Regions from separate parts of the Homo sapiens genome. Here all the other regions are linked to region 3. Evidence: promoter capture Hi-C in 16 types of primary human blood cells and fetal thymus (Javierre and others, 2016). All regions are on one chromosome and are shown on one strand. The core of a region is centred on a gene start or on the middle of the fragment in contact, and the rest is flanking DNA. Distances in the headings are between cores, read along the strand shown. Region 1 has its middle 16 kb from the start of LINC03066. Region 2 overlaps EXOC2 (exocyst complex component 2). Region 3 holds the start of IRF4 (interferon regulatory factor 4). Region 4 overlaps EXOC2 (exocyst complex component 2). Region 5 has its middle 35 kb from the start of LINC03066. Region 6 has its middle 12 kb from the start of LIRIL2R. Region 7 overlaps EXOC2 (exocyst complex component 2).

The links. The method cuts DNA at HindIII sites, captures the fragments that hold promoters and counts their contacts. A CHiCAGO score of 5 or more calls a contact.
Region 1: a fragment that was not itself captured here is called in contact with the fragment with the promoter of IRF4 in region 3 in 10 of 17 cell types (total B cells, naive B cells, activated CD4 T cells and 7 more); the score reaches 20.1 in total B cells.
Region 2: a fragment that was not itself captured here is called in contact with the fragment with the promoter of IRF4 in region 3 in 8 of 17 cell types (activated CD4 T cells, naive CD4 T cells, non-activated CD4 T cells and 5 more); the score reaches 30.7 in activated CD4 T cells.
Region 4: a fragment that was not itself captured here is called in contact with the fragment with the promoter of IRF4 in region 3 in 1 of 17 cell types (activated CD4 T cells); the score reaches 8.7 in activated CD4 T cells.
Region 5: a fragment that was not itself captured here is called in contact with the fragment with the promoter of IRF4 in region 3 in 6 of 17 cell types (total B cells, naive B cells, activated CD4 T cells and 3 more); the score reaches 12.6 in total B cells.
Region 6: a contact is called between a fragment that was not itself captured here and the fragment with the promoter of IRF4 in region 3, in 11 of 17 cell types (activated CD4 T cells, total B cells, naive B cells and 8 more). The highest score is 14.1, in activated CD4 T cells.
Region 7: a contact is called between a fragment that was not itself captured here and the fragment with the promoter of IRF4 in region 3, in 5 of 17 cell types (activated CD4 T cells, naive CD4 T cells, non-activated CD4 T cells and 2 more). The highest score is 16.1, in activated CD4 T cells.

What each region holds. Positions count from the first base shown.
Region 1 is chr6:219,735-224,025 of GRCh38, forward strand. No RefSeq gene overlaps it. Among named protein-coding and RNA genes, the nearest start is that of LINC03066, 16 kb to the left of the region's middle. RefSeq lists an enhancer at 1,066-1,145. The HindIII fragment of the contact is 6,117 bases long and covers 1-4,291 here.
Region 2 is chr6:554,995-558,787 of GRCh38, forward strand. It overlaps EXOC2 (exocyst complex component 2), which reads right to left. Exons shown (of 28, transcript NM_018303.6): 18 at 1,490-1,570; 19 at 960-1,019; 20 at 233-294. Among named protein-coding and RNA genes, the nearest start is that of HUS1B, 100 kb to the right of the region's middle. RefSeq lists a silencer at 2,281-2,468. The HindIII fragment of the contact is 4,828 bases long and covers 1-3,793 here.
Region 3 is chr6:389,506-393,704 of GRCh38, forward strand. IRF4 (interferon regulatory factor 4) reads left to right here and starts at 2,247. Exons shown (of 9, transcript NM_002460.4): 1 at 2,247-2,304; 2 at 3,593-3,863. The coding sequence starts at 3,648. RefSeq lists an enhancer at 217-266 and silencers at 1,934-2,323, 2,564-2,633, 2,914-2,963, 3,134-3,183, 3,294-3,403 and 3 more. The HindIII fragment of the contact is 5,232 bases long and covers 1,631-4,199 here.
Region 4 is chr6:575,957-580,137 of GRCh38, forward strand. EXOC2 (exocyst complex component 2) reads right to left here. Exons shown (of 28, transcript NM_018303.6): 12 at 801-926. Among named protein-coding and RNA genes, the nearest start is that of HUS1B, 79 kb to the right of the region's middle. The HindIII fragment of the contact is 4,106 bases long and covers 1-3,732 here.
Region 5 is chr6:238,148-242,325 of GRCh38, forward strand. No RefSeq gene overlaps it. Among named protein-coding and RNA genes, the nearest start is that of LINC03066, 35 kb to the left of the region's middle. The HindIII fragment of the contact is 801 bases long and covers 1,951-2,751 here.
Region 6 is chr6:166,365-170,058 of GRCh38, forward strand. It overlaps the pseudogene ANKRD18FP. Among named protein-coding and RNA genes, the nearest start is that of LIRIL2R, 12 kb to the right of the region's middle. The HindIII fragment of the contact is 1,969 bases long and covers 929-2,897 here.
Region 7 is chr6:538,638-542,951 of GRCh38, forward strand. All of the region lies in intron 22 of EXOC2 (exocyst complex component 2), which reads right to left. Among named protein-coding and RNA genes, the nearest start is that of HUS1B, 120 kb to the right of the region's middle. The HindIII fragment of the contact is 5,087 bases long and covers 1-4,314 here.

The DNA of each region.
Region 1 (4,291 bases), core at 622-3,121, 170 kb before region 3:
CCCAGAGACGTGAAGCAACATGCCTAGGGTCACACAGCAACAGCACACAGTAGGACCAGGCCAAATTCTCTTGCTCCATCACTTTGGGAACAGTGCAGCACAGCACCAGCAGGAAGTGAGGAGCTCCTGTGTGGACCCCGAGCAGCCCTGCAGATATGGTTATCTCCAGAGTCACGGCCCTCACAACCCTCTCCCCAGCTTCTGAGTCTGTCCCTTCTTAGCCTGGAGTAGTGAGATGGATGCACCGGCATCTTTGACAGCCACGGTTGTTCCGATTCATGTCCCCCCGCCTGCACCCCCGCTCGCTTCCCGCTTCCCGCTTCTGTCCTGCCCACACAGAATGGGGAACTGGAGCCGGGGCCAGGGGCTGAGCCGCTGTGTGAGCCCGAGTGATGAGTCAGCGTTCATTGAGCAAACGGAGAGAGGCAGAATGAATGAGTAAATGGTCTGTATTTTCTTTGCTACAATTTAATGTCCTAATATATAAAAGTGTGTGAGATTTTAAAAATATGAACACCAGAAAAAATTATCTCACATATCTGCACTTCTCTAATCATATATAATCTTTTCATGAATTTGGGTTGCATTTTATATCCTTAAATATTATATTGTACATTGATTCATATAGGTCCTGTATTTTTGTTACAGTTATTCCTAAGTATTTTCCCCAATTTTTTTAAATATTTCAAACTCACAAAAAAGATAAAAGAATAGTACAAAGAACCGCTGTTTGACCTTCACTGTAGATTGATGAATTATTAACATTGGCCGTATTTGCACTCTCTCTGCCCCTCTCTCTTTGTTTTAGAAACCACTTGAAAGTAAGTTGCACAGGCCATATTTAAAAATTTCTGGATGTTTCCTAACAACAAGGACATTCTCCTACAAAACCACAATATTATAATCACACCCAGGAACTTTAACGTAAGTTTTAAAATATAGTTTAAAACGGCTTTAATATATAGTTTAAAATAGTTTTAAATATAGTTTGATTCAGAGCAGAATGTGTTGAAGTTTAAAATACAGTTTGATTCAGAGCAGAATGTGTTGAGAGAAACTGAATGCACGTAGCTCAGTTCCAGTTGCTGAAGAAATTCAGCCTTCCCCTTCTCTAGCCTGCTTGACTTGAATCAGCAGTCTTGAGTTTGCATTATTGCAAGTCCTAGGCTCTGCCGTCCCCCAGCCCCTCACCTCGGTGCTCTGCAAATGCTGAATTTCTACGCTGTAGGCACCTAGACCCTTAAGAAACAAGCCCAAGCCAAGCTACCTGCTTTCTCGTCTCTGAGGCCAGCCTCTGGCCTCCCCAGGCAATGTCATGACATTAGACTAACTTTGGAGAAGTCTGGGAACTGAAGGGAAGCGAGACAATTCTTGTCACTCTGAAAAATATATATAGCTTATTATATTTCACGGAAGCCTTTTGTTTTGAACTCAAACGCAAAGCAGACAGTGGTGCAGGCATATTTTACACATGAGTGCTGTGCACGGATCTGCTCTATCTCCCCTCCCCGTGTGCCATTTCTAACTTCATGGGTGCGAGTCATGCTCCTTGTTTCCTGTAAGTGACCCCACGAGCTCCACTTAGCTCGTTGTGTGAAACTACAGCTGAGCAGTAAGGAGAGGAGGAGTGATACCACAAGAAGAGAAAAAGCAGCTTGCCCAGACGGCTGACCATGAAAATGGCCACGAACATGAAACAAGGACCGTTCATTAAGAAAAAGAGACTAGCAACTTTAAAAAAATTAAACAAAGTTGCCAAAGACATGAAGAAGTCATATGTCGCCACCTCTAGATTACTGCTATTCAAAGATTACTCCTGTCTGTGAACTTCCATAAAAAGACAGCCATGGTGAATTCAGAAACCACAATACCCTGCCTTTAAGAATTGGGGTGCTCAAATGGGATTAAGGTGCATTTGAGAGTGGACCCTGCAGTCAACAGAGAGCTTTGATGTTTGTGGTATCAAAGTCCTCAATTTCAGTTATTTAAATGCAAAGAGTGGCATCTGGGGAGAGAACACAGTTTCTGATAAGAAACCTATTGGTTTTTTTCCGAAACTGGTAAAATTGTAAAGGGTTTGTAATTCCCAGAGCCGAAAGAGGTATATTCTACGAAAGGAAGTGAAGTTTGTGGTTCTGTATTTATAAGATGACTAACAATAACAAGAAAAAATGAATGGACTGCACATGCACTTTGACAATGCGAAACTTCTATTCTGGCTTGTTAATAATTGTTTTTCTTTGTCTCAAAAGAAAAAAATGCAAGTGAGATAAAAGAAAAACTTCAGCCAAATTAAATGAAAGGGACTTTAATTGATCAATGAACGATTCATGAATCAGCCAGCCTTCTGAGCCAGAGTAGGCTCAGAGACTCCAGCGCAGCCACATGGAGGAAGATTTATGGATAGAAAAAGGAAAGTGACGTATAGAAAATGGAAGTGAGGTGCAGAAACAGCTGGATGGGGTACAGCTCGGCGTTTGTGGTATTTGAACATCGTTTGCGTTATTTGAACATGATTCAAACAGTTGGCTGCGTTTTATTGGCCCAAACTGAGTGATTGGCGCAAGAGCAGTATACAGTTCATTTACACCTCCGCTTGTTATAGTTCATGATATACCGAAAAACCTTCAGGCTAAACTTAAAATATGTAAGGAGGCAGCTTAGTCTAAACCTGATTTAACAACTGTAAAGATGGACGGTTGGAATCAGCACAAACTACTGCAAAGTATATTTTATAATGGCCAGAAAGAAAGCATTCCATTTTTCAGTAGAGAATCAAAGTTTTAAGAGCTTTTAAACCTAATGGATCTGTGGAGAGTAAAAATCTAGGTAGCTGCATTATCACAATGATTAAATGGACATTGGCTGCAGGAAGAGTGTGTTTGTGAGATTCTCTTTGCGCGTGTGAACAATCAATATCTTTTTCCTTTTGCTGACAGTGGAAAATATCATAATGATACATCCAATTACATACTTTTCTATCTCTTACTCTTTAATGTATTTGCCTGAAATCACATGTTTGGCTTTCCACATCCGCATGTGGGTCTGGGAGTAGAAATTCTGAGACGGCTTCACATAAGGAGGCTTCTTCCCTCCCACCCTCTCACGGACAAATCAATCAAATATCTGCAGCTTGACAACTTTAGCTCTAAAAGGGGGCACTTTTTTATCTTGTACCTTTTCTTATAAATTTTGGGATATAATTTATTTTTGGTAAAAAAAAAACTTCAGAAAGTGGTTTAGTTGAAAGCACCTTAGGCTTTCTTATTAAGAATTAAGCTGCCCATGCTATTCATACTTGTAGTTTAATTCCTCACTTATTGTTGTAATTGCAATTGGATTTTGCAACAACAGCAACAAAAGCCTCCCTGGCAAGTTCCTGGTGATTCTGGGGAAGAGGGCTTGAGCCTGAGCTGCTCTAACCTCTCCTTCAGTCCTCAGCTCCCTGCGGTCTCTCTATAGAGATATGAGACACCCCATTCCCAGTACAAGCCACTTTTCCAGCTTCACACACACGCCCTCTTGGATATGCTCCCTGTGACGGGCAACCGTTCTACTGGAAGTAATTCTGAAAAAAGCCTCTGAACCCATGAGGCCCACGTGGGGCTTACCTGGCATTCAACTGTGTTCTCCTACATGTCACCATGTCCTGTCTCCACGACTCATGTTTGATCCTCGCGGGGGCATCAGAGCTTCCTCAGCACCTAGCAAGGCCATCTGTATATGCAGTGGTGATCCCCATTTCAATGTAAATTACGACCACTCTCCACCACTGCTACCCAGGATGTTTCCCAGACTCCTTAGGTGTGTGAGGTGCAGAATCAACCAACTGGAAAGAAACACTCTTAGCCACTTTAATACTCCTCCTCCCTCTTTCTAAATTTCCTAAACCAGTTGAAAATGGGCACCTTTTCTGAGAAGCACAAGCTGTCTCTTGCCCCTTTTACAAATGTCAGTCATGTGTTGCTTAAGGACAAGGATACCTTCTGAGAAATGGGTCCTCAGGCAATTTGCTGTTGTGTGAGCATCGCAGAGTGAACTTCCACACACCCGCGTGCTATGAGCTGCTTTACACCTGGCGATATGAGACAGCCTGTCGTGCCAGGCTGAGACCTGCATGTCACTGCGCTGAGTGCTGTCGGCAATTATGACACAGTGGCGTGTGTGTATCTAAACAGAGAAAAGGTGCCGTGAAAGAACAATACGAAAGATGAACAACAGTACCTGTGCAAGGCACTTACCATGAGTGGAGCTTGCAGGACTGGCAGCTGCTCTTGTGAGTCAGTGGGTG
Region 2 (3,793 bases), core at 1,014-3,513, 170 kb after region 3:
AAGCTAATCATGTCTTCAATTTGCTTGATTTGTCTCTAATAAGGCAAAGATGAGTTGAAAAGATAAACTATGGAAAGAATATAGGTCGAATATAAAAAAAAACTATTACTTCGATATGAACAATCTTTCTTTCTTACTAGAAGTCTTAGGATATAAGACCAAGCATAAAACTTGAGCCTGTATTTTTAATTCTCTTAAATGCATTAATGAGATTAATTTAATTTTTACTTACTGTGTAGTATCTATATCTGCATCAGGCTTGGTGCTCAACTGTTCCAGACAGTATATAAAAACCTAAGTGAAAACATAAGTTTCAGAACTCTCAGAGGAATGAACTCCTAGACATTAATCTATTTGGACACTAAAGATAACTTTACATAAAGTAGAATTATATATCTCATTAGTGGTGTGGTGTTGTGTGCATGTATGAATATGTGTATATACTGTATATGCCCCATTAATGACAGAAATATATATCCCAGCCATATCTATCACATAAGTAATAGACAATTAGAAGTGCCTATGTTTTGATCAATTATTAAGTTTGTAAAGATATATTCCGGAAAAAGACTTTCTCTTATTCATTCACCCACATTCTCAACTTTATGTGCCTGCAAAGCACTGGTCCCAATAACAATACTTTATACCCTAGATATAATGTGAACAACTAAATATCATTTAATTTACGTTGTGCTCGAACAGAATACATAGAAAGTACCAAGAGAACACAAAAAAGGGGAGCATAACATAAATGAAACATTTGGGTATTGCTAAAACAAGTTGGAATTAATCTTACATTAAACTTTGTTACCCACTTACCTTAAACTATTATGTACACAGACAAGATGAAAAAAGAATACCTATTTGGTGAACGTCATCTGCAGATTATAAATAGGAGAGGGGTTGACTGACACTTAGTATTATTTGAGGCTTTCAGCATTACTGCTTTCTATTATTACCTGCATTATATTGATGCTTAGCTGGCAAACCTCCTCCTGTGTTTTAGGTTGTTGGAAGACCTGTAAGGAAGAATTTTGATGAAAATTTTTGGACTTTGCTAAGAAAAGGTTTTTGTATATGAAGTTAGATATGAACAGTTAAAACGTGGAACGCTGCTGCAGGAGTGGTGCCCTTCCTATAAAAGGAGGCGTGCGAAGAGTGGGCCTACTGGGAGGTGTTCCTTACTGTAGTGACTTGGGCTGGAGAAGACAACGCAGTCCTGGGCTGATGGTCAAGAGCCAGGCCCATCAATAGCTGTCCACAAAGTGCTATCACTGTAACCACTCCACCTACAACACCTGCACTCACACTTTAACTTGCATCGGCCTGGCTTGGAATCGGAAATCAGCACATCTACGCAGTTAAACTAAATGGAACAAGCAGGCGAAGAGGGAGAAAAGATCTTGCAGTACGATGAGTCAAAAATTTACAACTATGATTCCCAAGGCTCCCTGGGAAACTGGAGTCCAAGCGGAGCTGGAATACTTACACTGGCCTCTCCCGGCTTGCACTCCAGAACCCCCTTCAGTGACTGCAGAGAACACACGATGCACTGTTCAAACTGACATGGCTGAAGGGAAAACAGCATATTGTAAAACTCAAAAATGAGCACTGGCTGTGAAGACATGTTTAACACAAGCGAATATGGCCCCAAGCCCCACATTTTCCAGATTAATGGAATGGAACAGACACACGATCTGAAAAGTCATCTCCTAGTCATTGAGTTTCAGAGGTTTGGCATATGTTTTGTACTTCGTATTTTAGAATGAATCAATCTTGAGACTCCAAAGTATATCTAATTCAACTACAATAAAACTCAGATATGACTAAAAATTTTCTTCAAAATTCTACTCTTCTAAGAGGCCAATATACAACGAGGAGCAGATATAATGAGTTTATATTTTGAATGCTAATTCTGAAGGATATTCTGGGATGAGCTGAGTCTCCTAGATCTTCCACATCTCTGGAACTGTTAAACAAAATTTAATGATAATAATAATGACCTAGAGGATGTACAGGATCTTTATATCAGATAGATTGTAAACAGTCATTTTCTATCTACATTAAGTCAGAAAATGAAACCTGAAAATATGCCCAACCAATGGCATTTCAAGACAAGCTAGAATGAATCTTAGCTCCTAAGGGTGTTTAAGTTTTCACTTTGTGCCAGGAACTACTCTAGGTTAAGGAAGATACAGGAATAAGTAAGACAGAATTCTCATTATGTGTATATTTCAGGCAGAAGACACGATCATGAAAGTCAAAGTTGACAAAATGGTTTAAAAAAGTATAGAAATAAAATAATTAAAATAGTAAGTGTCATGAATAAAAGAAGTAGAATTTGGCCGGGCGCAGTGGCTCACGCCTGTAATCCCAGCATTTTGGGAGGCTGCGGTGGGCGGATCACGAGGTCAAGAGATTGAGACCGTCCTGGCCAACATGGTGAAAACCCATCTCTACTAAAAATACAAAAATTAGCCAGGCGTGGTGGCACGCGCCTGTAGTCCCAGCTACTCGGGAGGCTGAGACAGGAGAATCGCTTGAACCTAGGAGGCGGAGGTTGCAGTGAGCCAAGATTGCGCCACTGCACTCCAGCCTGGGTGACAGAGAGAGACTTCATCTCAAAAAAAAAAAAAAAAAAGAAAAGAAGAAGAACTGAGAGAACAATCATGATGGGGGATCGGCTGTAAATAGGATGGTCATAGAAGGCCCCCAAGACTGTGAGAACATTGATGCTGAGACGGGAAGGGGAAGAGGGACCAGCCCTTTGAAGGAACAGGGAAGGAGAGGAGCAAGTTCTCAGAGGACGACAGTGTACCCACCCCGCAGAGTGGGCAAGAAACCACTGGGAAAGCAGGAGCACAGGAAGAGCAGCGTGTCACAACCAACAAACATGAGCACAAGTCTTGAGAGATGGGGTAGGAGGCCAGGCTTCATCCGGAGCAGCGAGACAAGAGCAGCGTGTCAGAACCACCAAACATGAGCACAGGTCTTGAGAGATGGGGTAGGCGGCCGGGCTTCATCCGGAGCAGCGAGACATGGAAGGCTCAAGGCTCAACCAAGCAGTTGTGTGCAAAACACTGGGACTGAGAACCTCTCTTCAACACATGCATTAATTTTTAAAAGAGTTTGGGAAAAAAACTGAAGAGAAGAAAGGAAGTGACATCTATATACATCTTTTAAAAAGACAAGTTTATTTTCTTATGGAAAGGAACCCAGACTTAATGAAAGCTAAAACAGTGCCTCAGCTTTAATGTCATGTTATTTCTGCACTTTGAAACCACCAGAGGGCATTATAAAGAATACTTAAAAGTGAAAGTACAAAAACAGTAATAAAATAAGAAATAGAGGATGAAATACCAACTGCACAGAAAGCATTTAAAGAGGCAAAATGTTTGTTAGGTTACTGACCTTACTCATCTAACCTACCCACCTCAGAAGGTATGAAAATTTAAGATGTTACAATGATAATTATTACTATAATATTGACAATCGAATCTGAAATTCAACCGTGGGCCATTAAATGTTGATGTTTGGCCAGGTGCGATGGCTCACGCTCGTAATCCCGGCACTTTGGGAGGCTGAGGCGGGTGGATTGCTTGAGGTCAGAAGTTCGAGACCAGCCTGGCCAACATGATGAAACCCCATCTCTACTAAAAATACAAAAAATTAGCTGGGTGTGGTGGTGCGTGCCTGTAGTCCTAGGTACTCAGGAGGCTGAGGCAGGAGAATCACTTGAACCAGGGAGGCAGATGTTGCAGTAAGCCGAGATCATGCCACTGCACTCCAGCCT
Region 3 (4,199 bases), core at 997-3,496:
AGCTTTTCAATTTGAGAACCTTTGCCGTTTTTTGTTTCAATCGTGACTAAGATATAAAAGTCCTTGGTCACCACTGCCAGCTGCTACCTGTTCACTGCCTCCCTGACGGGTAATGAGGCCATCCGGAGTTTTAGTGATTAAAATGTTTTATTACTTGTATTCACATCATCATTAAGAAAAATAACTTCTAGTGGATCAATATGGCAAATGAGTAAACCAGAAGATGGCGTTGAAGATTAGCAATTACATTTAAAAACAAGGTAGTGGTGTGAAGGCTCAGAGTTTCACACAACGACTGTTGTTCTGAACTAAAAGCAGAGGATGTGGATGAGTGAGGGGAGGGTATGTTGAAAATGACTAAACCCGGTGCAGAGGACACGTATACGAAAGTGCAAAAAGCTCTCATTTGCCATTTTTTGTCCTCAGCAAACTCCTCTCTGGTATGTTTGTGAACGTTTGAGGGAAAGGTAACACTGATTAAAATATAATGCAACAAGAAGGCAACGATCTTTGCTTTGTTCACTGATGTGTTCCAAGTGCCTAGGACGGTTCCTGACAAGTAGCAGGTGCTCAAAATACATTTGTCAAGTGAATAAATCTGTGAAAGGAAAGGAAGAAAAACAGGTTGTGACCAGAACTTTTTGTGAACAAAACCCTGTTGTTTATTACATAGACTTTGGTAATGGAAAACTTACTTGGGTGAAATAAAAAATGGCATCCTGTTAATTTCTGAGAACGTCTGTTGGTTTTAGGAAAAGCATACCTATCCATACCTCACTACCTGTTTTGCTCTAGCCTAAACATAGATTCTTCTTTGGTTAGGAGACATTGACCCAATATATAAGATTAAAACAAAAACTGAGAAATAAGTGAAATCAAAAGCTTTTCAAAAGTTGCAGGTTGACCTACGGTGGTGGTGGTCTAAAATCATATAGAAACCAGAGATCTGATGGTTTACCTGAAAATGCGAAGTAAATGCACATACTCAGCATCTCAGACGATCGAAAGCTCAACGGGTGAAAGCTCAGGGGGTTAATTTTGCGATTAAGGACATCTTGGAAAAGTATGTAAAATCCCTGGTCCACTTAAGTATTATTCCTATTTTGGGCTTTTATTTATTTATTTTGAGATGGAGTCTTGCTCTGTCGCCCACCTCGGCTCACTGCAACTTCAGCCTCCCGGGTTCAAGCGATTCTCGTGGCTCGTCCTCTCAAGTAGCTGGGGCCACGCCCGGCTAATTTTTGTATTTTTAGTAGAGATGGGGTTTCACCGTGTTGGCCAGGCTGGTCTCGAACTCCTGACCTCAGGCGATCCACCGCCTCGGCCTCCCAAAGTGCTGGGATTACAGGCTTGAGCCACAGCGCCTGGCCTATTTTGGGCTTTTATACCCCACTGGTAAACTGCTTTCCTCCAGGTTGAGGTTAAAACGACATCATTTTAAGGTGAACTGAAGTCTGGAAGTGATTAAGCACTTGGATCCTTAGGGAGCCTCTCCCCGCCCCCATCTCTTTCATGCTAAGATAATTAAAACTTCGGGGCCGGGGCATTGTCTGAGTCACTTCAATTCACCAGCCTAATAGATGCAAAAGGATGTAAGCATGTCAGACACGCAGAGACAGTATTTGAATCAAGCTTAATAGCTCAAGGGAGCTGGGCCATTTCCTATTTTCTTTTTAGTGAGTGCGATGTTCTCTAAACACCGCGGAGAGGCAGGGTTCCCGGTGATGGCCTTGCCGAGGGTGCTCCCGCAACCTCCACCTCCAGTTCTCTTTGGACCATTCCTCCGTCTTCCGTTACACGCTCTGCAAAGCGAAGTCCCCTTCGCACCAGATTCCCGCTACTACACGCCCCCCATTTCCCGCCCTGGCCACATCGCTGCAGTTTAGTGATTGACTGGCCTCCTGAGGTCCTGGCGCAAAGGCGAGATTCGCATTTCGCACCTCGCCCTTCGCGGGAAACGGCCCCAGTGACAGTCCCCGAAGCGGCGCGCGCCCGGCTGGAGGTGCGCTCTCCGGGCGCGGCGCGCGGAGGGTCGCCAAGGGCGCGGGAACCCCACCCCGGCCGCGGCAGCCCCCAGCCTTCACGCCGGCCCTGAGGCTCGCCCGCCCGGCCGGCCCCGGCTCTCGGCTTGCAAAGTCCCTCTCCCCAGTCCAACCCCCGGCCCCCACAGGCCTCGGCGCCCCGCCCCGCCCCAGGCCCCGCCCCAGAGAGTTCTATAAAGTTCCTCTTTCCCACCTCGCACTCTCAGTTTCACCGCTCGATCTTGGGACCCACCGCTGCCCTCAGCTCCGAGTCCAGGGCGAGGTAAGGGCTGGAGTCGGGCAGGAGGAGGGGTGTGAGGCTGATACCAGAGAGGACCCGGAGCGCGAACCAGAGGTTCGACCTCCAGGGCAGCGCAGGGTACCCCGGCTTCGGAGCGGGAAGGGAGCGCGCCCCGTCCTGGAGCTCCGACTCCCACCCCATCTGCGCTGAGCCGGAGGCGCTGGTTTGGGCTCCAAGGCCCGCCTCCTTGGCTCTGCCCGAGCCTCCCCGCCTGCCCTCCGCGCTCCTGCGACGGGGTCGCCACAAGCTGGACGGGATGAGCTAACCGGACTGTCGGGGCCCCAGGAGTGGCTGAGGCGGGGCCGTCCAAGGCACCCACACAAGACGGCACAACTGCCTGCGAGAAACAGGCCCGGCCCTGTGGACCCCAATCCGAGGCTCCTTCCCCTGCTCTTCGTTCCTAAGGGGCCCAAGCTCACGGCGGCCTCCGGCGCGGTGCTCACCCGCTGGCGCAGGAGGAGGAGGAGCTCCACATTTGGGTCGCTCCGAGCCTTGCGTGCGGTGGCCTAGCCGGCCTGGCGCGGTCCCTGCCTCCCAGGCTCCGCAGCTGTCGTCGCCCTCTCCCGCGCCCTCCCCGCCTCCGCTCTCCCGGGCCTGCTCCGGGGTCCGGCGGACGCTCTGCGCGCGGAATCCCCCGTACTGGGGCTGCAGCCCCCGCGTCTGCGCCACTTGTCGTTTGCAGAGCCCACTTAGTGCGCGCTAGCTGGGCAGGGATAGGGGTCCTATTCGGGGCGAAGGGTCTGGATGCGAGCAGAGAAAGCGGAGGGTGGAGGAACCCGGGGCTGCGCCCCTGGAACGCCCGGCCGCAGGCGAGGTCCTCCGCGCGTGGAGGCCGCCAGGGGAGTGGAAACTGACAGAGTCGCGGGGAAGGGGCGAGAAGCGGGTTGGGAGTGAGCGAAGGCAAGCGAGAGCTGCGAGTGAGTGCGGAAGGAGGGCCAGGAGGGGTGGCGGCTGGGTGGGGAGAGAGGGTGCAAGACGAGCGGCGCGTGTCGGGAGCCTTTGGGCTGCGGGTGCGTTACAGGAGAGCAGGCGGGTAGGAGCCTTCGCGGGGGCCGAGCTCGGAAGGCGGACGGCTGTGCCCGCCCAGGGGATGCGCCCGGGCCGGCCGCGAAGGTGCCTTCTTCCGGGGGCCCGGACGACCCTGACACGGCACGCGCGCGCTTCGCAGCCTCAAAGACTCCGGGGCCTCGTGGTCACTGGCGCAGGGGATCGGGGCGGGGTGCCCGGAGTGCGGTGCCTCGTGGCTGAAGGGCAGCTCTTCTCCCCGCAGTGCAGAGCAGAGCGGGCGGAGGACCCCGGGCGCGGGCGCGGACGGCACGCGGGGCATGAACCTGGAGGGCGGCGGCCGAGGCGGAGAGTTCGGCATGAGCGCGGTGAGCTGCGGCAACGGGAAGCTCCGCCAGTGGCTGATCGACCAGATCGACAGCGGCAAGTACCCCGGGCTGGTGTGGGAGAACGAGGAGAAGAGCATCTTCCGCATCCCCTGGAAGCACGCGGGCAAGCAGGACTACAACCGCGAGGAGGACGCCGCGCTCTTCAAGGTCTCCGGCCTCGGGAGCCGGCGGGGGCGCGCCGGGGAGGGCCCAGAGACAGAGCCCGGGGTCCCCGGCGCCGCCTCCGAGGCGAGCCCAGGGGACCGCGCGGGGCGGACGGGCGGGCGGCGGAGGCATCAGGTGGCGTCGCCGGAGCCGCAGGAGGAGGAAAGGAGGCCTCGGCTCTCAGCGGGACCGCGGGGGCCGGGAGCCGGGTCCTGGGCGCGTGGAGGCTGCAGGGAAACCGCTGAAGGCCCGGCCGGGCCCGGGGAAGGGCGGCCAAAGGCTTGAGGGGTTTTGCGCGTTCGTCCGTGCGTTCTCGTTTCCACGCAAGCCTCCCGCCCT
Region 4 (4,181 bases), core at 430-2,929, 190 kb after region 3:
TTCATTTAGTACAAATGAATCATCTAATTTTAAGGTGCTCTTATGATGAACATTCATTTATATTAATAAAACCTTCGAAAAATTCCCTACTGCAATGCTTGTTAAGAATAATATAAGACATTTTAAAACAACTGTACAGGTATCTGAATTTAATACAATGTAAGGTATTTCTATTAGTCTATTTGGGTTTCTTATATCTGTTATTGAGATCACAAATGGCTCCTGACTAGTGGCATCTAATTTGGTGCAAGAATGCCTGATAGTCGATCATGTTGTATCTCAAATAGGAAAATGGTAAATATCCACTCCAGAAAGTTCAGAAATGCAACATACTTAAAATTTTAGATGCTTCATCTTAGGAAAAATTATTAGCAAGTATTTTATGGTTAATTAACAGCCAATCCCTCTTTCCAGACCAAAGTTTAAATTTCATCAAAAAAGGTATACTGATACTACTTTTATCGCAAATTCCATCTTAATGAAGTTCTCACAGAATTTTTTTCTGTGGCACTTTAAAAAAATTCAACCACAGAAAAAGTAAAACTAGACTTGAACTAAATATGTTTAATAAGCACTGACCTGCACCCAATGACTTAAAAATCAAATAGCATTCCTTTAAATGTAATATATATTTTAATTATTAAATTACTGGTAGTTACTGTAACAAGCAAAAGCGATGATGGCTGATAATACTTAGCACCAGTATCAACACAAATTGGGGAATTTTCCAAGAGAAGAATGTTTGAAATTACACGAGTACAAATTTAAAAGACCCAGTGGCAGTGGAGGGAGATACTTACTGTCGTCTCGACCAGACTGAAAGCTGCTGCCCCTCTTCAGGGACGCTGTCTGACTGAGATGGCCCAACACTGAGGGACGTGTATCATTATCAAGATCCAACATGGGACTGTGCAGGCCTGGGTTACCTGGGGAAGAAAGGAGAGATATACAGAGTATATAGCATGCTCTATATACTCTTGCTTAGTTGATTTAATGGTCTGCTTCTCTGAGGCTATTTCTTGCTCAATTGCTCCACTCTTAAATAAGGCATTTATTAAATAAAATAAAAAGTATTTTCTCTAAACAGATTTTAAAAGTCATTCTCAGTTCAGCAAAATTGGGTGGTGGTGGGAGGATAATGCTATAAACACAAAAAGTAGCAGGAAAAATCACATTTTGCAAAACAACTTTTGGCACTAGGAAAGATAATGGAGTTCAGAATCTTCTGTTTCTTTAAATGTAGCTGACTTACACATTTTTGTAGCATAAATCTCCTCTGACTTCTCCCTTAATGCCACACTTTACACTTAAATCCCCAAATCCCACCATTTGTTTCTTGGACACATGGGATTTCACTCCCTATGGCGTTTCTTGATGCCAGTCATCTAGTGTGGATCCTTTTCACCTCACACTTCATATGCCAGAAGCCAGAACATTCTACTACCATCAAGAAATTGTCTTTATTGTCTCACACTCAAATACTGCTTTTTTGATTCTCATCTGAGAAGTCTTCCAGAAAACCGGCAGGATAAAGTCTACCCCGATGTTTTCCAATCCAAATTATGCTGAGAATTAGGAAACAATTTTTCTAAAATGGATCACAAAAGCCTTTAGGAATAGAATTCCATGTTGCCAAGCATGTTAGTAAGGACATTGGCTTGAAGAGGTAAAATTTACCTTGTTAGTCTAAAACACCACTCTTTAGCTGAGTATTCAAAGAGCTTCAAAATAAACTGAATTCAAAGTGCATTTACAGAGTATTTACAGTACTGTGCATAGGACACTTGAATATTCTCCCTACAAAAATACACCTTACATTTTGCTGCCTTATTTGCTATCCTCTCTACTGGAAAGGCCTCACTCAGTTTTTCTTCTTCATCCATTTAAACCCACATCCTGAAAGATGCCACTTGAAATACAGCTATTACACAAGGTCACCTCTTCCTCTTATCTACCTAAAGTGCTACCTATCTTTTCTGCCCTCTGACAGCAGTGAGAATGTATATAATTTATGTATATAATTTAATCGACTTCACATTCTAGAGTCTGTAGTTCATTAACAGCTAGGTATTGCCTATCTCCACCAAAGACTGCTGTTTTCTCAGGGATAAGAAGTAAATATATCTCCATGTTCCCCACAGTCATTGGACCTTCCACAAATAACTCCCACCACATGTAGTAAGTGACTGACACTAAAAAATATATTTTTTACTTTATAACTTAATAGAATATTAAAAGCCTATGGAGTTGTTTTCAGGTGCTAATATAAAACATATTTCCAAATTAAAGTAACATTTTGGTGTCTCTGATAATGCAAACTATTCAATAACATTTAACAGGTATTTATTGAGCTCCCTCCCGCATGTGAGGAATTGCAGGCCCGGGGGATAAAGTGATGAATAATATCTAAGGCCCTGCTCTCAAGATGTTTACATTCTGGTGGTGGAGGCAGAAAATAAACCAATAGATAAATAAACAACAAAACTATAGCAAAAAAACGCTAAGCAGAGGAGGTAAATAGTGATTGTGTGGTAAGAAAAGGCTTGATCTGACTGAGGCCCTCCTACCGTGTGCCCCTGGACGTGACACACTATCATCTCTCTCTCCAGATCCCCACAAATTCTAGCTGGTAGGTCTTAGATAAATAGAAAATAAATCATTTGAACAGATTTTTTAGTGCAACAGAAGTTTTTTTGAAGACTTACTATGTTTTGGCCACTGTGCTAAATAAATGCTGTGCATACATTTGTATTTTTGAAAATATTAAAGCTAAGATAAGAAGACTTATAAAATCCACTGTGTTACCAAAAAAATGTGACAGAGAAAAAAAATACAGTGAAGAAAGTATTTTTTTCTAATTGACTTTTTTTCATATAAAAATGTTTGTGTGGATGTTCTAGTGATTTATGACATTTTCCTTTGAAGTTTATACAGTTGTCACTTCTATCAATTGTGGAATTCAGGAAATGAATATCAAAATATGAATTTTCTAACATACTTTAAAGAGAAAAATAAAGGGGCCCAAACTTAGCGTCACATTAAAAATACATATAAAAACTTCTAATTTATATTAAAATGTACATTTTTAAAGTATAAAAAAGAATGCTTTAAACTGTTACATTTCACTTACTCTTGAAGGTTTTTAGGACTATGAATTTATGATTAAGAAGGAAAACACTTCCTAGTTTCCTGAAAATACGCATATACCATTCCTGCAAAAATACAATTATTTCAGAAAAAGTTTTCTCCTTATAACTGGTATTTTTATAACTTTAAATTGTTTAATATTAAACCATTTGTATAGTTTAAGTACATCCTGAGTTTTGTAATGGTTAAAAGATTGATTTTTTTTCCTTTAATAACAGAAACTGTATTACTATGCTTTTGTTCTATTAGAAACCACATCATCAGTTTTCTATATCAGGAAAACAAAGGTAACCGTGAACAAATTTTCCAATTGGTACCCTGGCATTACCAGAAGTATAACACAGCAGCAGGGAGCTAGAAGAGCACATGCCCCTCCGGACTATCAGCATCTGGAATACATTCGGAAGATGTATTTTTGCTGAGTGTCCAGAAGGTAGCGCTTCACAGCTGCACACAAATGCATAATGTGCCCTGTCAACTAAACAGTGGGTACTAGCTTAGAAATGTATTTCTCTCCCTAACACTCGTACTTTTCTTACTGTCAAAAAATAATCTCAGAATGAGTTATTTTATAGAGAATTAGAAAGCTTATGTTTTGAAGAGAAAAGCAACACAAACTTTTTAAATACCAGTTGTCACAAATTATGTATGACCAAGTGTCAAAAAAAAAACAAACAACTTGATAATTCTGACACTCCTTTTAAATTACATAACTTACTATTTCTGACTCACAAAATTATTACAAATATGAACTGGTTTCATGAGTAAGCATTTCTATAAAAAAAAGAAAAAAACAGTTTCCATAAAATATAAAATCAGCAAAAGTCTTTAAATATTTCACATATCAGTCTATTTTGTTTCATCTTACAATATGACAGCAATATCTCATTTAAAAAACTATACACATTACATAAAGCATATGGTGGCCGGGTGCAGTTTTTTTTGTTTTTTTTTTTGAGATGAAGTGTCACTCTGTTGCCCAAGCTGGAGCCCAGTGGCACAATCTTGGCTCACTGCAACCTCCAACTCCTGGG
Region 5 (4,178 bases), core at 1,101-3,600, 150 kb before region 3:
ATTGTTCTTCCTATAAAATGGATCACTTGGCCCACAAGCACATGAGCCAAACAGATCTTAATGATCACTGGCGACATTGAAATCCAAGAACACAGGAGCTGTTGAAGCCTGAGACCAAATCTGGGAAGGGAGAATTGAAAAGGACAAGAAAATCGTCCCACAAAGGATTTGAACACACACGGAAGTGGCATGTTAAAACGATATGTGCACCATGAAGAATCTTGAAGAGAAAATTGTAGTTGGGAAGTTTCTTAGTAAGGGGAGAGGGAGTTCTTACTATATACATTATATTAACATATTAACGTTAATCAATATTAATTTCTGGAAGAATATACTTCACTAAAATGAAAAAAGGTTTGATGTTGAAGAAATTGAGACACAAAAGAGAATCCATTTATTTAACTTGGGGAGTTAGTTTCACTTTGGTTTATTTATGATATTTCAATATGCTGACTTTAATTTTTTTGGATACGCTATATTAGTACATATTTGTGGGGTACATGCACAGAATGTGTGATGATCTAGTCAAGATATTGATCATTTCCACGTGTTGGGTACACATCAAGTCCTCTCTTGTAGCTATTCTGAAATACATAATACATTGTGTTAACTATAGCCACACTGCTCTGTTATCAAACATTAGAACTTATTAAATGGAAAGATACCCAGCACTTGGGGAAGCCGAGGCAGGCGGATCATTTGAGATTGGGAGTTCAAGACCAGCCTGGCCAACATGGTGAAACCCCATCTCTACTAAAAATACAAAAAAATTAGCCTGGCGTAGTGGTGTGCACCTATAGTCCCGGCTACTTGGGAGGCTGAGGCAGGAGAATTGCTTGAACCCAGGAGGCGGAGGTTGCAGTGAGCTGAGATCGTGTCACTGGGAGACAGAGTTAGACTCTGTCTCAAAAAAAAAGAAAAGAAAAGACACAAAGGCACACTCTTATTTTATGAATAAATGTCTCCTCAGTCAGAGGCAGATGCTTGTCCATACGCTGCAGTTACCACTGTGAGTGGCAGTGAAGACGCACCAGAGGCACAGCCCTGTTAGTCATTCTAGGGCTGGTTTTTGTCCATCCCTAAGACTGCAGTTCATTAGATGAAGTTGAAATAGCTCCTTACTGTGGAACTACGAAGAGAAGTAACCGCCTCACTCGGCTTGCTGGTCTAGTGCTGGAGAACGAGGTTATAGGTGTATCTTTGACCACTGTGGGACGTGGGCCCTCATCTTCCAGAGGGACAAAAATTACAAGATCTCAGAGTTGCCTCGGGATTGTTGAAAGATCAAAATCAGACAATGGGCCAGTGCAGGGTATTGTTATCACTGGGTGTCAGGAGCTGATGGCTACCAGAATTTAAATGAAGGGCCTTCAGAATGAACGCTGTTGACAATGCCATCGATCGTTTCCCTCCTTCTGAGTCCACCCTTGACGAGGGCCACAGCCTGGCTTCTGTCATAGAACTCCCATGGTACTTTCCATGAAGTTAAGAAAGTCATTGTACACCTCCCAGCACTTTTATTTCTGCTGAATAAAATCTCCCTCTCCTGGCCTTGGAAACTGCTACAGCTCACTAACCCTCTATCCTCAGAAACAGCCCTTCCAGCAACGCTGGCGGGCACCTGCCCATATCCTCAGGGAATTCCACTGGACTTTCCCAGTTCCTCCCTGGCCTCACGCCATTTTCACTGCATTCGTGTTTAGCACGTGCTTTATTCTCTCCCAGTTACACAGAGTTTCATGGAAAATCTCATGACAGTTTTTGGAATTGGGTTGATTGATAGGGCCATCCTTGGGAGAAGACGTGGTTGGCAATTGGTAAATTGGGGCAAACGTCGAACTCATTTAAATATTTTTTAACCTGTTGCTGTCTTTCACATTTTTCTCCTGAGAATCATATAACCTTAGAGCTGGAATGATCCACTCTCTCATTTTATGATGAGAAAACGGAAGCTTAGAGAAATGAATTGGCCTGGACTGAAGGATTAAACAACTAGTTAGTGTGGGAGCCAAGGCAGGAATCTAAGTCTCCTCCTCTCCAGTCAAGAACTTCTGGCCTCCAACATCCTCTTGAGCTCACATCTCAGAAGAGTGACATAATGTCCTCTCCCTGGGACCTCTATGTAGCCTCCACGTGGTCTAGGCTCTTGAGGTGCTCGGCTGGTACCCTTGCCCAGAGCAGAGAGTGAGGCAGACTGAGCCAGGGAGCAGGCAGGTGCTGGGGAGCCAAGGAGCCTCAGCGGGATGCCTTCCCAACTTACCACTGTTGTCATTCCAGAGCCCAGCTCACTTTGTCATTTTAAAGGCCATTTGTTAAACTCCCTTAGTCAATCCCATAGCCCCATTTTTCTTGTTTCCCTGTGGCACTTGACTAGGAGTTAAAAAATAGTAACATTAAAGACAGACCAACTATTCCTATTCTTGGACCAAGTTCCAGGAGCTGTGTTTTCCAGAGCAGGGAATCAAGGAAAATCAATATGACCTGAGTAGAGTAGACGAGCAGTTTCCCACTCCTGGAAACCTGGGGCTGGTACCAGGTCCAGGGCATGCGCTCCAGAATAGGCAGGCGGAACCTCTGAGATGCAGCCGAGGTACCATCGCTCCTGTGGGCAACTTCCTCTATAAAAAATATTTAAAAGTATTTTACTGCTGCGCTGATAAAATGACAGATGTAATTGAGATGGGATTCATTATTATATATTCATGATTATTATGTATATTTTTCTTCTGATTTTAAAAGGAATAAAGATTAAGCTTTTTTTTTTTTTTTTCTTTTTTGGGACGGAGTTTCGCTCTTGTTGCCCAGGCTGGAGTGCAGTGGTGCGATCTCAGCTCACTGCAACCTCTGCCTCCCAGGTTCAAGCGATTCTCCTGCCTCAGCCTCCTGAGTAGCTGGGATTACAAGCGTGTACCACCGCGCCCGGCTAATTTTGTATTTTTAATAGAGTCGGGGTTTCTCCATGTTGGTCAGGCTGGTCTCTAACTCCCGACCTCAGGTGATCCGCCCGCCTTGGCCTCTCAAAGTGCTGAGATTTACAGGCTTGAGCCACTGCACCCGGCCAAGATTAAGCATTTCTGAGGCTTCCGAATGCAGCCTGGGTCCCAGGCACCCTGTGCTTCCTGTGCCAGAGGGCAAAGTCGGCTTGCATCAGAACCAGATGAGCTGCGGGCACATCCTGCCTCTTCGTGGCATCCTGAGTTCCCAGAACCTCTGTTTCCTTCTCTCTAGAATAAGGATTGCCCAGGGCTACTGTGAGGATGGGCAGAGATCACATATATAAAAGAGAGCATCCTCTCATCCCTCCCTCACCTCCCACCTTTTCATGGGAGACTAGTCTGCAGCATTTCTTGTCTGCACAAACTCTTGGATTTGTTGCTTCTGAAATTGGAGACAAGCCACGGGTTAAGGGCACAGTCATTAGCAAGATCAGTTTTCCTCCTTCTCAGCTAACTTTTCTCTCTCTGCACAGCACTCCCTCTGCTCTGGTCGACATGTGCACAGCTGCACTGAAACTTCTCTCTGGTGACCGCCACTCCCTCCAAATAGCCTCACAGTGCCCCCACTGTTGCACACACTCAAGCTACCGCCCAGCTAGAATAATCCACCTTGGGCATCTTTTAAAAAATGCTCTAAAGGAAAGTGCTATCTCATCCCTGAGCAATGGAGGAGGAATATATGTTTCAATTAATAGTAAAACGACCAAGACTGATGCATCCTATAGTATCTGGGACCTGCTTTACTCACTTGTCATGAAAAATTGTGAAGGATTTTGAAACGTGAAAGAAAATGTGAGTGATGCCTATAAATCTATATATCTACAGTTGACCCTTGAACAACATGGATTTGAACTATGCAGTTCCACTTATACATGAATTTTTTTCAGTGAAAGTTACGCTGACTGTGCCTGACTCTCTTGCCTTCTCTTCCACCTCGTCTACCTCTTCTGCCTCTGCTACTCCTGAGACAGCAAGAGCAACCCCACCTTTTCCTCCTCCTCCTTAGACAATGTGAAGATGATGAGGATGAAGACCTTCATGATGATCCACTTCCACTTCATGAATAGTAAATGTATTTTTTCTCTTCCTTATGATTTTCTTAGTAACGTTTTCTTTTCTCCAGCTTACTTTTTGCTAAGAATACAGTACATAATACATATAACATAAAAATATTTTTTAATC
Region 6 (3,694 bases), core at 663-3,162, 220 kb before region 3:
CATTCTACAAAAGTTGAAATAAAAGTGCTGTTAAGTCTGATAGCAATAAAGAATGTATTCTTATGTAAGAAAACCACAAAGCTTGGGCCGGGCGAGGTGGCTCACACCTGTAATCCCAGCACTTTGGGAGGCCAAGACAGGAGGATCACGAGGTCAGGAGGTTGAGACCATACTGGCTAACACGGTGAAACCCCGTCTCTACTAAAAATACAAAAAAGTTAGCCGGGCATGGTGGCAGGCACCTGTAGTCCCAGCTACTCCGGAGGCTGCAGCAGGAGAATAGCGTGAACCCAGGAGGCGGAGCTTGCAGTGAGCCAAGATCACTTCACTGCACTCCAGCCTGGGCAACAGAGGGAGACTCCATCTCAAAAAAAAAAAAAAAAAAGAAAGAAAACCACAAAGCTTTTAACATAAAAATGGAAAGAAATATTTTAGTGTTTGATGTTTATTTTGGATTCCATTAAATAATAAACATCCGTATGTGGTTAAGTGCTTGGATGCCCACCGCTTCCCTGTGATTAGGGATGGAAAACTTGAGATAGTGCAAAGAAACTTTAAAAGTGGTATGAACCGCAGCCAAAACTACAATCAATCAGAAAGTAAGCCAAAGTGGCTGAGCGCGGTGGCTCATTCCTGTAATCCCAGCACTTTGGGAGGCTGAAGCAGGGGGATCACGAGGTCAGGAGTTCGCGACCAGCCTGACCAGCATGGTGAAACTTCGTCTCTACTAAAAATACAAAAAATTAGCCGAGCATGGTGGCACACACCTGTAGTCTCAGCTACTTGGGAGGCTGACGCAGGAGAATTGCTTGAATGCAGCAGGCAGAGGTTGCAGTGAGCCGAGATCGCACCACTGTGAGCCGAGGTTGCATCACCACACTCCAGCCTGGGCGACAGAGTGAGACTCTGTCTCAAAAAAAAAAAAAAAAGCTTACCTTTAGTTATTAGGCAATAACATGCAATTTCTAAAACCTAACTTAAATGCAGTTTTTCAATCAATTTAAAATGTGTCAGTTTAGTTACATTTATTGAATCAAGTTAACAAATAAGTATCTCTTGAAAATGAGAGCTCCCAGGACTTATAAAAACCGTAAAGTTCCCATTTGCTTTCTGCATTAGCTAATTATGACCTTCACTTAACAAGCATAAGTCAATTGAACGACTCAGTATTTCACCAAATTAAAAACAAGAAGTATATTAGAAAAACAAAACCCAAAAGGGAAAAGGTAATATAACTAACCTCAGTCAAGCAGTTCATGCTGTTATTCGAAGTCTATGGGCTTGAAGTAGGGATCCTTATGGGTGTTTTGGAATATATTTTCTGTTGTGACCTATACTATTAAGATTTCCAACCCAGGGTGGCTCTGGGTCTGGCCTCATAGGCAGAGTGGTGGGAACAGATTTCATTTGCTCTTTCTCTATATGGAGCTTGCTGCTGACCATTGCTATTATCTCATTTGATCTGTACAGATAGCAAAAAACAAATGCCTAGTATTTTATTTTTCCTTAAATGATTCCTAAATGATTTGCAATTTTTAAAAAATTGCCCTGACAGCAAACAAAATTACCCACTAAACTGTTTTAACACCAAATGTGTGAGAGCATACCTGTTATAAGCAAGTATAATTTTAAAATCGTTCTTAAAAAATCACATATGTTTCTAAGAAGATTTCTAGTGAATAAGTAATTCAAACAAAGTAGGAAGGAGAGAGAAATGGCTATCGATGTACGGCTCAATAGGTAATGCTTGCTACCTTCTAGAAGGCTGTACTTATAAGATTCTGAGGATGCCATTAGAAATACTTGTATTCAGGCTGGGCACAGTGGCTCATATCTGTAATCCCAGCACTTTGGGAGGCTGAGGCGGGCAGATCACCGGGTCAGGAGTTCGAGACCAGCCTGGCCAACATGGTGAGAACCTGCCTCTACTAAAAATACAAAAATTAGCCAGGTGCAGTGGTGGGCGCCTGTAATCCTAGCTACTTGGGAGGCTGAGGCAGAAGAATTGCTTGAACCTGGGAGGCGGAGGTTGCAGTGAGCTGAGATTGCGCCACTGCACGCCAGCCTGGGCAACAAAGCAAGACTCCATCTCGGGAAAATTAAAAAAAAAAAAAGAAATACTTGTATTTAAAGGTAACTATGTGAGATGATATGTTAATTTGCTTGACTATAAGAACAACTTCACTATGAATAAACATATAGTAACGTGTTGTATGCCTTAAATAATATACAATTAAGAAAACTAAAACAAAAACAAAAACAAACAAAAACAGAAGCTAGAAATACTTGTATTTAGAAACCAGTTTCAGGATTTTAGAAATCACTCCTAAATATATTTTCAAACATTTGTTTTCACCACCCTTGTACATTTCACCCATTATCTAGGAAAAAATAAGCATTTCACACTGAGAAATAATTCAGAGCAAGAACTCCTAGGAGAGAACTAGATGGTTGGATTGGTGATCAAAAAGAACTAAAGCATCTCTGAAGGCAATCAGCCCTTAGCATTGTGACCAAGGCACTGGAGGTGGGGCTTGCCCTTTCTGTCTTCCACACACCCCTTCAGGCTGACCAAGGTGTTATTTTTAAACAACTTTGTAAATTACACTTTCTTTCATCCCTAGGATAATCATTCCCTATTTCACAAGCATGTCTTCCTGTAGACTGAAAAAACTATACAGAAAAGTTTGTCTCAAAGCGCCCTCTAGTGATAATACTAAAAATCACAATCAGGAAAGTTAAGTTACTAAATGCCAGGACGTGCCCAGAATAGTAGTAGTTTGGGCACTTTGAGTTTAGATTGTGACCTACTAAAAAACAAATTAAATTCATTAATATTTCCATTTAGAAGAATTCTGAAAAGTAATTTTACAGCAAGATCACTTTATTGACCATAAAGCTTCAAAAATGCTAAAAGACTAATAGACTAGGTTAACTACGTAAGATTTTTCAGGGGAAAAGGCCATACAAAAGTTAAAAAAAAAATGAGGGAAGAGACAGAAACTGTCCTTGACTAACATTTTAAATGTAAGTTTATTTACTAGCATTATTTTCAAAAATTATACTATCAGGATAGCTTTCACTTCCTACTAATCTCATGAAGTTGTCTCACTAAAAATTATGCTTTCATGGCAAATTAATGAACTTGATTGATTTTCTACAAGTGTATGTTTTGACTTATTTCTTTAAATTTTTTGACATGGATTTGTTAGCTTTTAATGTTATTGCAAAGACTTCCTTATATTCTTCTAATTCCGTAGTAAGCTCTTCATAAGCGGTTTTCATTTTGGAGAATTGACATTCCACGTCTTTCAGTCAGAGTTCTCTTTTATTCATCAAAGCCATATTATTCTCTTTTAACTGCTGTGTTTTTCATATTCTGCTTGTTTCTAAAACAAATAAAAAATCATACTTTTAAAACAATTATAACCTAATTAGTCTCTATTTGTTGCCTTTCATTTTGAGTCAGTGATTCAGAAAGCAATTTTAAATATGTGTTTTAAAAAGGGGCTGAAGTTTAAAACATCTATTAGCAATTTCATCTAAATTGATAACAGAATTCAGAATTAAATATGAATTATAAAAATTTGAAATCATTCTTGTTAGTGTTCATGTAATCTAATCATTTAAAAATAATAGAATCCATTGGAAATGTTAAAAACTGAACAATGTAGCGTAAGACCAATTCAAAAGT
Region 7 (4,314 bases), core at 671-3,170, 150 kb after region 3:
AACAATTTAATTGTGTACAGACAGTCCCAACTTATGAGAGTTCAACTCATGATTTTCCCACTTTACCAGGGTGTAAAAGCAATGCGCATTCAGTATGTTCCCTGGCTTATGATGTGCTACGTCAGGTTAAACCCACTGTAAGTAGAAAATATCTGGCCGGGCACAGTGGCTCACGCCTATAATCCTAGCACGCTGGGAGGCTGAGGCGGGTGGATCACGGGGTCAGGAGTTCAAGACCAGCCTGGCCAAGATGGTGAAACCCTGTCTCTACTAAAAATACGAAAATTAGCCGGCTGTGGTGACAGGTGCCTGTAATCCCAGCTACTAGGGAGGTTGAGGCAGGAATTGCTTGAACCCGGGAGGCGGAGGTTGCAGTGAGCCAAGATCACACCACTGCACTACAGCCTGGGTGACAGAGCAAGACTCTGTCTGAAGAAAAAAAAAAAAAAGAAAATATCATAAGTAGAAAATGCGCTTACGATATTTTCAATTTTGGAAGGGTTTATCTGGAGGTAGCCCCATCATAAGTTCAGGAATATCTGTATTCAGAAATAGACTTACTCACTGAATTCGTACATATTAGCACTGAGGAGGGTCTTTCGAAGCATTAAAAAACTGTGGGTAATAACTTACAGAAGTAAAAGGCGTATGCTGGAGGCAGAATTCTGGTGTAATGGACAATACTCCCAATAAGCCAGCGCCCTGCCACCTTAGCAGCAATCATGTATATACTCAACAACATTTCCATCTCACGCACCGGCACTGATGCCAGCCAGTGCTCCCAATAAGCCACCGCCCTGCCTTTCTTAGCAGCAATCACGTACACTCAACAACATTTCCATCTCACGCACCAGGCACTGATGCCAGCCAGTGCTCCCAATGGACAGTCCTGGAGAAGAGATGCCTAAGTCGATTGTCAAATTTCTCTAACTTCTTTACTGTTGTCTTCAACACAGTCACAATGGTTTAAAAGATAACATCATTATTTTGATGTATTTTAATGTTTCCAATTTAAAATTTCCAATTTGTGATTTTAAAAACTTTTTGATAATAATGTTTTTTAAAAATTATGCTTCCAAGAAAGAAAATAAACAACAAACAATTATTTTCATTCCAATTTGGCCATCTGTATAGAAATAAGGTCATCAAACTATCATTAGAACATCTATCCAAGTGACTCTGGATAACTAGGTTCAGACAAATTAATTTTTTTTAGCTCTTTTCAAATGGATGGCAGGACAGGTGGCAAACTGACATTCCTTTATATTACTGAACCACAACTTGTCAAATGGGGGCAAAATAAATGCCAAGTAAATAACTAATTTTAAAAAACCTCTTAATTCCTAGGAGAAGTATTAACACAAAAAAGAAAACTACAGATGAAACAGGATATACTGTCACCTGAAACAGAAGGACAGCCTGTGTCTCCAGGACTTGTTAGCGAGGGCTTCCAAGCCACACATGCGCACACCATGCCCAGCTAATTTTTTTATTTTTAGTAGAGATGGGGTTTCACCATGTTGGCCAGGCTCGTCTTGAACTCCTCACCTTAGGTGATCCACCCACCTCAGCCTCCCAGAGTGCAGGGATTACAGGCAGGAGCCACCACACCCAGCCAGGAATTTTTAATAATCAAGTTAGTCACCTCACATCCTATATATTAGGCTTCAATTGTTTGCTCCACTGTTCTCAATAGGATAATCTTATCCTTGACGATTTGATTTTCTATCTATACAGAATAATCGGAAAGACACTGGAAAGAACTTTACTGCTACCACTATCTCCTTCCCTGATTTCTGAATTATACCATTCCAGAGTAAGTTAATAATTTCCCCTTACTTAGTAACAAAAAACAAAGTTTCTGGAGAAGAAACACAACTGAAATAACATTTCAATACACAGTAAATTTCAGCAAGATTAGACACAACTGAAGAAACAAGGAACAAAAAGAGAGAGCTGAGGAGATTACCCCAATCAGTACAGACAATTAAAGATGAGGAGAATAAAAAAGAAAAAAATTAAGAGATGTGAAGAATAGAGTGAGAAGGTCTAACATACACCCAATAGGAGATCTTAAAGGACAGAAAAGTTTGAATGGAGAAGAAAAAATATTTGAAGAGATAATGGCTTAGAACTTTCCAGAATTGATTAAAGACATCAACCAGAGCCAAGGGAACAAACAGGCCAAAAAACATAATAATACCAAGACACATAATAAAAATACAGAACAGAAGAGGCAAATAAAGTATCTAAAAAGGAGCCAAGGAAAAACCTTACTACATTTTTCTCAGTAATCAAGAGATCAAAGTCCAAACCAAACAAACAAAAGGACTGAACAACATAATCCACAAACCCGATGTAATAGACATCTGTGGAATGTGGTATCCAAAACGTAAGGACACGATCTTTTCAACCGAGGTAGGGTTTCAGAAAACTGTCCACATATGAGCTTACAAAGCAAGCCTCAGCAAACCTAAAAACATGATATTCTCTGACCTCAGAACAATGATGTTAGAAATCTCTAACAAAGAGAAAACTAATTCCAACTGCTCCTCTGCTCCCTTAGCTTGGAAATTTAAAATCATACTTCTAGCCAAGACTAAAATAGAATATTAAAATTCAAAACTAAAAAAAATGAAGAATAACTAAAATACCACTTGCGAAAACATGGGAAACACAGCTAAAAAGACACTTAGAGGGAAATTCACAGCCTTAAATGTTCATATTAAAAGACAGAAAGGTTTAGAATTAATGAACTATGTAAATAAACAAGATTAGAGTCCAAATTACTGCAAGAGAAAGCAAGGATATAACGAGAGAGCACTACTAAAGTCAAAAGTTATTCTCTGAAAAAGACTCTGGCAAGAAACAAAGAATAAAAATACAAACAAGCGATAGTAAGTACAAAAAATGACCATATCGCAGCTGAGGTTGAAGGAATAAAAATACAAACAAGCGATAGTAAGTACAAATAAGGACCACATCGCAGCTGAGGTTGAAGTAATAAAACTGTTATAAAACAATTTTACGCCAACAGATTTGAAAATTTAAGCAAAATGGGCAAAGTCCTAGAAAAATATAGATGACTACGATTAACATGAAGAAATAAAAAGCTGGATGGTTCTATAACCATTAAAGAAATTGGGCCAGTCATTAGCAATCATCTCACAAAGAAAATCTGGGCATACGGAAAATACCACTACCAGAGCGTTTTTCTAAATATTCAAAGAATAAATAATTCCAATCTTATGCAAACTCTTTCAAAGAAGAAAAAGGAATATATTCTTTAATTCATGTTACAAACGAGCATGACCTACATGCTACAACATGGATACATCTCAAAATAATACTGAGTGGGAAAACAAAGTCACAGAAAAACACACACCATATAATCTTATTTATGCTAATGTAAAAGTCAAAAAAGGTAATTTCAAACAAAATATTGTTTAGAAACCACACAATTCAGAAGTAGTTCTCTATAGGAGAAGGTGGGTGGCATGGCTGTGCAGGGGCACAAGTGGACATAAGGCCTCTGGGATGCTTTGTTCCTTCAGCTTGGTGGTGTGGGAGCACCTGGGTTCATTTTATCACTCTCTTACATCCTACATTATGCGATATCTATTCTATTATATGGATAAAATATTTAACATAAAAACATTTAAAAAGAATGTACATCTAGAAAAGAAGTGCATCTCCATTAAACTAATCATAATGCAATGTGTGACATGCTGTTCTAGTGCCGAGAACAAGGCATCAAAGGAGAAAGAGGACGGTACGGTGCACCTTGCACTTCGGGAATGGAGGAGGAGAGGCCCTACAGGCTTAACAAAGGATGAGACATCTGCATCTCAAGTGGGCTTTGGTGGACGATCAAGATTTTGTGAAGTCCGGATTGACTGAGGAAAAGGCAGTCCTAGAAAAATACAGATGACTACAACTAACAGGAAGAAATAAAAAAGCTGAATGGTTCTATAACCACTTAAGAAATTGGACCAGTCATTAACCATCACCTCATAAAGAAAATACTGGGCCTAGAGAGTACAACACAAGCTACAGATAAATGTTCCTACAACAGAGCACCGTAGTAAGCTGGCATTGAATGTGTACTTATTGAATGAGTGAATGAACAGAGAAAGTATATGAAATGTTCAAGTAAAGATGAGCAGGTGCCCAGGCTGAATGATAAGGTGTTGGAGTAGGGGGACAAAAAGCCATGAGAGAAAGAGGCAAGAGAGCCAGATGAAAATCCTACACAAACGCCAGCCTACGGAGCTTAGCTCTTCAGGCAGTACGGAGTCCTGAAACACAGGAGGA